Linked DNA regions of Homo sapiens: regions 2 and 3 are each linked to region 1. The links are contacts of gene promoters, found by promoter capture Hi-C in blood cells and fetal thymus (Javierre and others, 2016). All regions are on one chromosome and are shown on one strand. The core of a region is centred on a gene start or on the middle of the fragment in contact, and the rest is flanking DNA. Distances in the headings are between cores, read along the strand shown.

The links. Contacts are between HindIII fragments. The CHiCAGO score rates a contact against its expected background, and 5 or more counts as called.
Region 2: a fragment that was not itself captured here is called in contact with the fragment with the promoter of GPRIN3 in region 1 in 5 of 17 cell types (naive CD8 T cells, activated CD4 T cells, naive CD4 T cells and 2 more); the score reaches 7.3 in naive CD8 T cells.
Region 3: a contact is called between a fragment that was not itself captured here and the fragment with the promoter of GPRIN3 in region 1, in 1 of 17 cell types (naive CD4 T cells). The highest score is 5.6, in naive CD4 T cells.

The regions. Positions count from the first base shown.
Region 1 is chr4:89,306,507-89,309,094 of GRCh38, reverse strand. It overlaps GPRIN3 (GPRIN family member 3), which reads left to right and starts at 1,295. Exons shown (of 2, transcript NM_198281.3): 1 at 1,295-1,480. RefSeq lists silencers at 1,216-1,285, 1,296-1,345. The HindIII fragment of the contact is 16,857 bases long and covers 1-2,588 here.
Region 2 is chr4:89,416,665-89,419,252 of GRCh38, reverse strand. No RefSeq gene overlaps it. Among named protein-coding and RNA genes, the nearest start is that of GPRIN3, 110 kb to the right of the region's middle. RefSeq lists an enhancer at 1-289. The HindIII fragment of the contact is 264 bases long and covers 1,168-1,431 here.
Region 3 is chr4:89,396,344-89,398,931 of GRCh38, reverse strand. No RefSeq gene overlaps it. Among named protein-coding and RNA genes, the nearest start is that of GPRIN3, 90 kb to the right of the region's middle. The HindIII fragment of the contact is 2,669 bases long and covers 1-2,588 here.

The DNA of each region.
Region 1 (2,588 bases), core at 46-2,545:
CTGGCCAACGTGGAGAAACCCTGTCTCTACTAAAAATACAAAAATTAGCCGGGCGTGGTGGTGGGCGCCTGTAATCCCAGCTACTTGGGAGGCTGAGGCAGGAGAATCGCTTGACCCCGGGAAGCGGAGCTTGCAGTGAGCCGAGAGCGCGCCACTGCACTCCAGCCTAGGAGACGAAGCAAAAAACAAAAAACAACAACAACAAAAAACTAAAAAAGCGTTTCCTCAGTCCCTACCCCAGACCTATTGGATCACAATCAGCATTTTAACAAGACCCCCTAGGTGAGTCCTGTGTACTAGATGAGAGGATATATTTTGGATTGGTTTGAATCCCAGCTGAGCAGGTTACTACTGTGTGACCTCAAGCAAAGTGTTTAGATCATATAAGCCTGTTTCCTCGTCCACATGGTAAGGCACCTCAATGGGTTGTAGTAAGAATTAAAGAGGCTGAGGCTGTATGTAAGGCATTTTTCACAGAGCCTTCCAACAAATACCCAGTTAATAATGAAGCTCTTTTCATCGTATCATTTTGCACCATCTACAGCTGCTAACCATACTACACATCCATTCAGGATTCTGGAGCTGCTCAACAGGGAAGATTTCCAAAGCCCTCAAAGCCCTCCAAGCCCATGGGGTAGCGGGAAGGGGATGGGGACAGGAACACTGTCAGCAGTGCCTCTCCGAATACGCAGGATACTGTACATTTTGCAAAACATATTACTTATCGGATGATCTTGCTTTCAGATCTCCACTGCACGTGGCTTTATTGGAAACCTTCTGCTAGAGTCTAGACTCAGCCATGGAGTCTGGTGACCTGTGGGAGGGAGCAAGGGCCAGAATGCCTGCTAAATCGCTCTGGGTCCCCAGCCCTCTTCCTTAATCCCTTCTTAACTTTCCATCTGTCTCTGGTCTCCAGGGGTGCAGAACCACAACCCACCAGACCCCTCCTAGCTCCCGGCCCGGCGCTCAGCAGCCTGGGCTGCAACACTTTCCCCCAGGACCGGGAAGGCGGGGGAGGGGGTTTGGAGGGGGCGGAGCTCGGCCTCCTGCTGCCGCCGCTGCTGCTGCCGCCGCCGCCGCCTGCAAAGCTGTCGCCCCTCTCTCGGATGCTCAGGCTGGGCAGCGCTGGACAGATGGGTACACCCCGGGCCTGACGGATGAACAGTCGGGCAAGTGAACTCTCACCTCCAAACTGGCTCTGCGCCCGGCGGGGGCGGCGGCGGCGTCTGCAGCCCCGCGGTGGGGGCAGCCCCCTCGGTCTACGCCCGACTGCTGCGCGCCGCCTCTGCTCTTGGCATAGTAATTTCAGTTCCTGAACGCACGGAGCTCGCTCCGGGACCGGGCTGAGAAGGACCTCAGCTCGCGGGCCCGCCGGAGCCATCGGTGTGGCGCCGAGAGACGGTGCTTGGGATATGCGACGGGAAGCCCCCGCCACAGCGCAGGCAGTGGCCCCGCCGCGCCGCGGAGCCGGGCAGAGCAGGTAGGAGACGCCCCCTGCGCACCTCCGCCTGGCGGCCAGCGCGGGGGACCGGAGCCTGGTGGTGTGCTCTGTAGGGATGCGGAAGGGATTCGGTCCCACATTTTGCACAGGGATCCTTTGCCTGTTGCTCTTGTCTCTGTCCCATCCTGCGCTCTAGGAGGGGCAGTCTTTCTCGCAGGTGATGAATTTCTCTGCAAGGTCATTGCTCTCTTTGGCTCTGGCTTTGAAGGTAAATGGGAGAAGACGCCTGCTGATCGTGGGCAGGGAAATTTATAATCAATCGGGTCTGCACACTGCGAATATCCGAATATGAGGGGTGTGTGTGTGTGTGTGTGTGTGTGTGTGACATTTGTCTCATTTTCCTATGCTTATCCCCTTTAAGGTCAAAACATAGAAATATATATTACATATGGATGTATGTATGTGTGTGTATATACACACACATACATAAATGCATATGTAAATAGGTTTTCTTGAGGTAGGCAGAAAGAAGAGGAAGGGCGGGCAGGGGTTGATAAAGGGAAATCGTTGTAGAGACATGTTCACTAATAGAGGCGAACTTTGGAACCACATTAAATCAGGGTAGAGACTAGAGGTGATAAACGGTTCTTTCAAGATGGGCTTTAGAAGAGGTCTGAAGGAGCCTGTCAGCCAACACACACAGAAGATCTTCATGCTCTCCAGGCAGATGGAAACGATGTAGGCATCATTTCAGACGCAATAATGGACAGTGAAAGAGGGAAAAAAGGAGAGGTACTTAATATGCCACTGGGAAGTGAATTTTGGGTGATGGGAAGGCATCGAATCCAGACCAGGTTTCAAGGGCTTTCTGGAGGGCCATTGGGAGAAATCACCGCTTGGGGTGTAGGCAGTTCAAGGTTAAGACGATGTGAATGTCCACAAAGCAGCCGAGGAGGTGGGCAAAAGGCAAGGGCTTGGAGGGGGAGGGGAGAAACAGAGCTCTGAGCAGTCACTCAAGAAGCACCCACCTTTGAGTAAGGTGTCTTCTTCCTCTTGGTTAAAGCGGTACTTGGGTATGCTCCATCTAAATATTTTCACAACACATTTGTTTAAAGATCCATTGGACTATGTTTTTATTTTGTTTTTG
Region 2 (2,588 bases), core at 50-2,549, 110 kb before region 1:
ATCATCTCTTAGAAGTTCACAGTATGATCAGGGGATTTTGAAAAGTCTGGAACAACTAACTTCTAAATTATTAGCAATTCAAAAAGAAGTCATCAGGGACTGAATTTTTAAAAGGCTTGCTGAGTAACAGTGAATATTCATCTGAAATTAGTGCAGAGTGATTTAGTGTCACTGTAGCTAAGATATCCCTCATTAGCACTAGCAACTCTAAAAAAAGAACTGAGAGAGTGATAACTTAAGATTAGCTGCAGGAAGGGATGGCAAAAAGGCTGGGGTATGGGTGAGTGCTATGGTCTGAATGTTTGTGGTCTCACAAAATTCCTGTTAAAACTTCATCCCCAGTGCAATAGTATTAAGAGGTAGGATCGTTGGGTGGTGATGAGGTCATGAGATGGAGCCCTTATGAACGAGATTAGTGCCCTTATAAAAGAGCCCAAGGGAGCTTCTTTACCCTTCCACCATGTGAGGACATAGCTAGAAGGGACCATCTATAAGGAGCAGGCCCTCGCCAGCCACTGAATCTGCTGGCATCTTGATTTTGGATTTCACAGCCTCCAGAAGTATGAGAAATAAATTTCTGTTGTTTATAAGTTACCCAGCATATGGTATTTTGTTATTAGCAGGCTGAACAGATTAAGAAGGCCTGCTCTACACTGGGGAGAAATGCACTGGAAAGGTTGTTCATTGGGTTTCTGCAGCATATCTGTTCACAATGAGAAGAAAGAGGATCTTATGAAGAGAACTTGCACCATTTCTTGTGACTTGTATTTATTACATATCAATAAACAGAATGCTTGGGGAAAATCAGTCAGGTACAAGTTTGGCTATCCTTAACTAAATTCTGAGCCCTATTTTTCCCTAAATCAATTGACTATTAAATGTCAGGCATATAGTTCTGTATCAACTTAGGAGATGGAGAGGGATGGGAGGTTGAAAATAGGAGCTAATTCTGAAACGGATTCCTCTGCTTCTGTTCCAGAGTAATTGTTGAATCTTCTTTCTGCTACTTTACAATAGACGTATTGATTAATACATCTTTTAATTTATTTAAAGTCGCATTGTTTAAATCTTGAGAAACATCTTGAAATGAAAAAAAATTCTGCTTATTCATTGCTATTGTTTAGCGTTCCAATTATCTATTGCTGTGTAGAAAACCACCATAAAGCTTAGTGGCTTAAAGTAAAAAGACTTATTTTATTCCCAAATCTGCAGTTTAAGCAGGATTAGGTAGTGATATCTTGGCCTCAACTAGAATGGCTCAAATGCAAGGATCTGGAAACATCAGATGATTTGCTCACTTCCATGTTTGACAGTCAGTATTAGCTGTTAGCCAGGACAATAGCTGGCTTGTCAACCAGAACATATACATGTGGGCCCTCCATGTGGCCTCTGCTTCCTCACAACATGGTGGCTGAATTCTAAGGGCAAGCTTCCCAAGAGTGAGAGAACCACGCAGACGCTGTACGACTTTTTCTGCCTGAACCTCACAAGCATTACTTTCACTGCATTTTATTCACAGGGGTGGTCAAAAAGGTCCACCCAAGGTCAAGAGAGAAGAGTAGAGAAACAGACACACTGTGTCACTCATACACATTCTTTTAATCTACGTGGTCACAAGGCCTTCCTAGTGTCAATGGGAAAGGAAATAGACTCTTCTTCTTGACAGAGGAATGGTAAAGTTCTAGAACACTTTGTCCTGGGAATATTGCTTTGGCCATTTTTGGAAAATACAGTTTGCCACATTTAGCAATCTGCTTTTCAAAAATAGTAAAGTATGAAAAGTAAGATCCAATTTCACTTAATTACAGAGGAAAGAAAATCTAAAAACTTTCTCAAATGGAAGCAGAGAAACGAGTATTATTACCTTTCTTCTGCAAACCACAAATTTCCTGAAGTTTTGCATCAATGGGAATTTTATTCTAGCAGTCAAATGTAGAGTTTGACCCTAGAATTTTATAAGCGCATCTCAGAGCACAATCTGAGGATATAAGTAAAATGTTCTTCTGTTTGAAGCCTATTTTAGAAATAAGAAAGAGATGAATCACTAAATAGCTTATGGTAATGTTTTTATTGATTCATGACTCACCACACGCTCCTACCATTCAGGCAAAAAATAATGTCTTCCTTGTAGGTGATTTGCTCTATTAGACCTCATGGGGAAAAAGAGTTCTTTGCTTTATATCTTACTCTGACAAGCAATGGTTTTTGTCCTGCTTTTGAAAAGTAACTAAGATGCTAACTTGGGAAAGTGCATTAACTTTTCAAGCTCTACCAATTCCATTTATGAAATTATATCTACTCATGCATTATCTTAAAGAGTTAATGCTCTTTATAATTATAAGGAAGTTACTGAGAAAACCTAGGCCTCCCAGTATACACGGGGTGCCATGAGAGACACCATAGATCCATTCTGGGAAGTTATGCTCAGGATTAGAAAGATGGGCCAGAAAACCTCTGAAGTGCCTAAGCATCTTTGCCCAGTATCAAAACCAGAGGATGACTACCTACATCTCAAAATGTCGTACTTTTATTCATACTATTTCCTCTCCACTGAGAGAAACCTACTCCCAGCTCAACCATCATCACTT
Region 3 (2,588 bases), core at 51-2,550, 90 kb before region 1:
ACAATAGCTCATGCATCTTTGCCTCTTGAAGCAATCAGCCTACCCTTCTATTAATATGCATGAACTAGCTCTGCTCCTATCCAAGGCCAACTCTTGCACTTGTGTTCTAGAGCCCTCTCCTTTTGTTTTTAAGGACTCTGTTCCTGCAATTACTTCCTATCTTGCATCAGTTTCTGCCTCTCTAATAAATTATTGCCATTTATCTAAAACATGTTGAATATTTCCTCTCTTTAATAAAAAAAACCTCAACCCACTGCAGCTTCTGTCCCATTTCTTAGCTCCTTTCACAGCACAGCTTCTTCCTTAAAGAGCAGTCCAGAAGCACCGGCTTTTGCTTCTCCACCCCATATCCTCTCTTCAGCCTTTCTGCCCCTACCAGTCTACTATGCCTGCTCTAATCAAGGTTACTGATGACCTCTATGTTTATAATGACCACTCTTTTATTTTTGAAAGTGCTTTTATTTTTGGTTACAGAAAAAACGCACTTCCTAGTTTTCCTCTCCCCTCACAGCTCACCCCTTCTGAGTCTCCTTTGCTCTCTTTTTATTCCTTGATAAACGCCAAATGCTGACATCACCCAGCACGGTGCAACTGTCTGGATCCCCCGCTTTTTTTGTCTATCCACACACTGTTTCTTTGTGCCTTCTTCCAAGCTGATCATTTTAGATACCATCAATTAGTGATGATTCTCAAAACTACTCCTCTAGCTTTGCTCTGTTTCTGGAGCTACAGATTTATATGTCTAAATCCTACTCCATATCTAAATAAGTTTTTCTAGTAAATAGCTCAAAACTGACACAGCTCAAAAATGACTATTTATTTGTTTTTTCCACAAACTTCTTTCACTTCAAAATTCCCCAGTAAATGATATGGCCATCTACCCAGTTTCTGGAGTCCGAAACCTAGGCATGCTTCTTCATGCTCCACATTCAATCCATCAAGTCCTGTTGAGTCTACCACCAAAACCCATCCCACATCATCCACTCCTTTCCATATCCATTATCACCCTGTCTCCCCCTAACTGATCTCTTGCTTTTTCCCTTGCTCCTTTATAATCCCCTCTACAATTCTCCATATAGTAGTCAGAGGGGATATGCAATGTAAATCAGATCATGTCATCCCATTCCTTTTTAATCCTTAGTGATTTCCCACCTTCAAAAGAAAACCCAAACTCCTGAGCTGCCTTATAAAGAACCACATGCTTGTCTACCTCTGTGACCTCCTTGACTTTTCTCTCCCTTCCTCCTTGCACCTGCCAACATGAGTCATCCTTAAACATCTCATGTCCACTTTCTGGCTTATGACATTTGCACTTATTTCTTCTATGTGGAAAACTTTTTCCTTGATCTTTTCACACTTGACTTTTCCTTTTTCTTTCAGATCATGTAACTTCTTTGGAGCAGTCCCAACTACTTAATCGAAAGTAGCTGTCCAGTCATCCTATTTTAATTTCCTGCATTATGGTTATCCTTATTTGATTTTTTTGGCTTCAGTCTTTTTTTTTTTTACTTAGTACATTTGTTTGTTTTTCTGTTAGCTGCCTTCTCACTGATGCCAAGAGAAGATAAATTACACGAATTCAAGAACCTTACTTTTCTGTTATCAGCTCTATTACTAACATCTAGAAGAGTGTCTGTTTGGCACAAAGTAGGTTCTCAATAAAATGTGTATGGTATACAAATTGTTGAGTGTCTTAGATATAAGCAAGTTTGAATTAAAATTAATGACAAATTATAGAATACTGTATTATCATTTTAAAAGAAAAATTATCACTTTCTGATTTCATCAATGAGAAAATTAATGATTGGTCATTTTTATTATGAGAAAAATGTGAACAGGCTTGCACTTATGAGGCAGCCTTAGAACACTCTAAAGGACAGTTTCTAGAACCAGTATATGACCCAGAACTTGGCTATGTCTGGGAAACTTAAGTCCATTGCAATATAAATGAGTCAAATTTACTGTCTAGTGACTACGGTTAACAGAAACTACCTTGAGAGATTTTCACCCCACCCCAGATGAAGTACCATGAACTAGACTTACCCTGCCACCTGAATCTATGGGGAAAAAAACAGACAAAATATATAAAGCAGTGTATTTCAGACATAGAACATCAGGAAGTGCAGGACAGTGATTCCTCAGAGATAAAAAAACAAAATAAGTGAGCTCTGCAGTTGCCTCTGCTGACAATTTATGGGGAATTTTTAGCCTGTGGAATAGGGAGGTCACATTTAGGTAAAGCTCATTGGTGACTTTTGAGTTGGAGAGATGGAATTGGGTGTCTGAGAAGATTAAACTACCTGTAGTTCACAGAGAAGAGTACTGGAAAGGAGACTGTTGCCTAGAGAGAGCTCTAGAGACCTGCTGAGGATGCCCCTCAAGTCTTCAGCTACTGACTACTCAACACTTGCACTTGAGAAAATAATCTCAGGCTGGGAAATCACCACAAGAAAGGAGCAGAAGGGAAATCCTGAAGCTCACACAGAGCTGGGAATAATCTGTGTTTGCACCTGCCAGAGAGGAAAACCCTCACAATTCATGGGTATAAGGTAGAATACTCAGAAGGATCTTGCCTCAGTAGTGGGCAG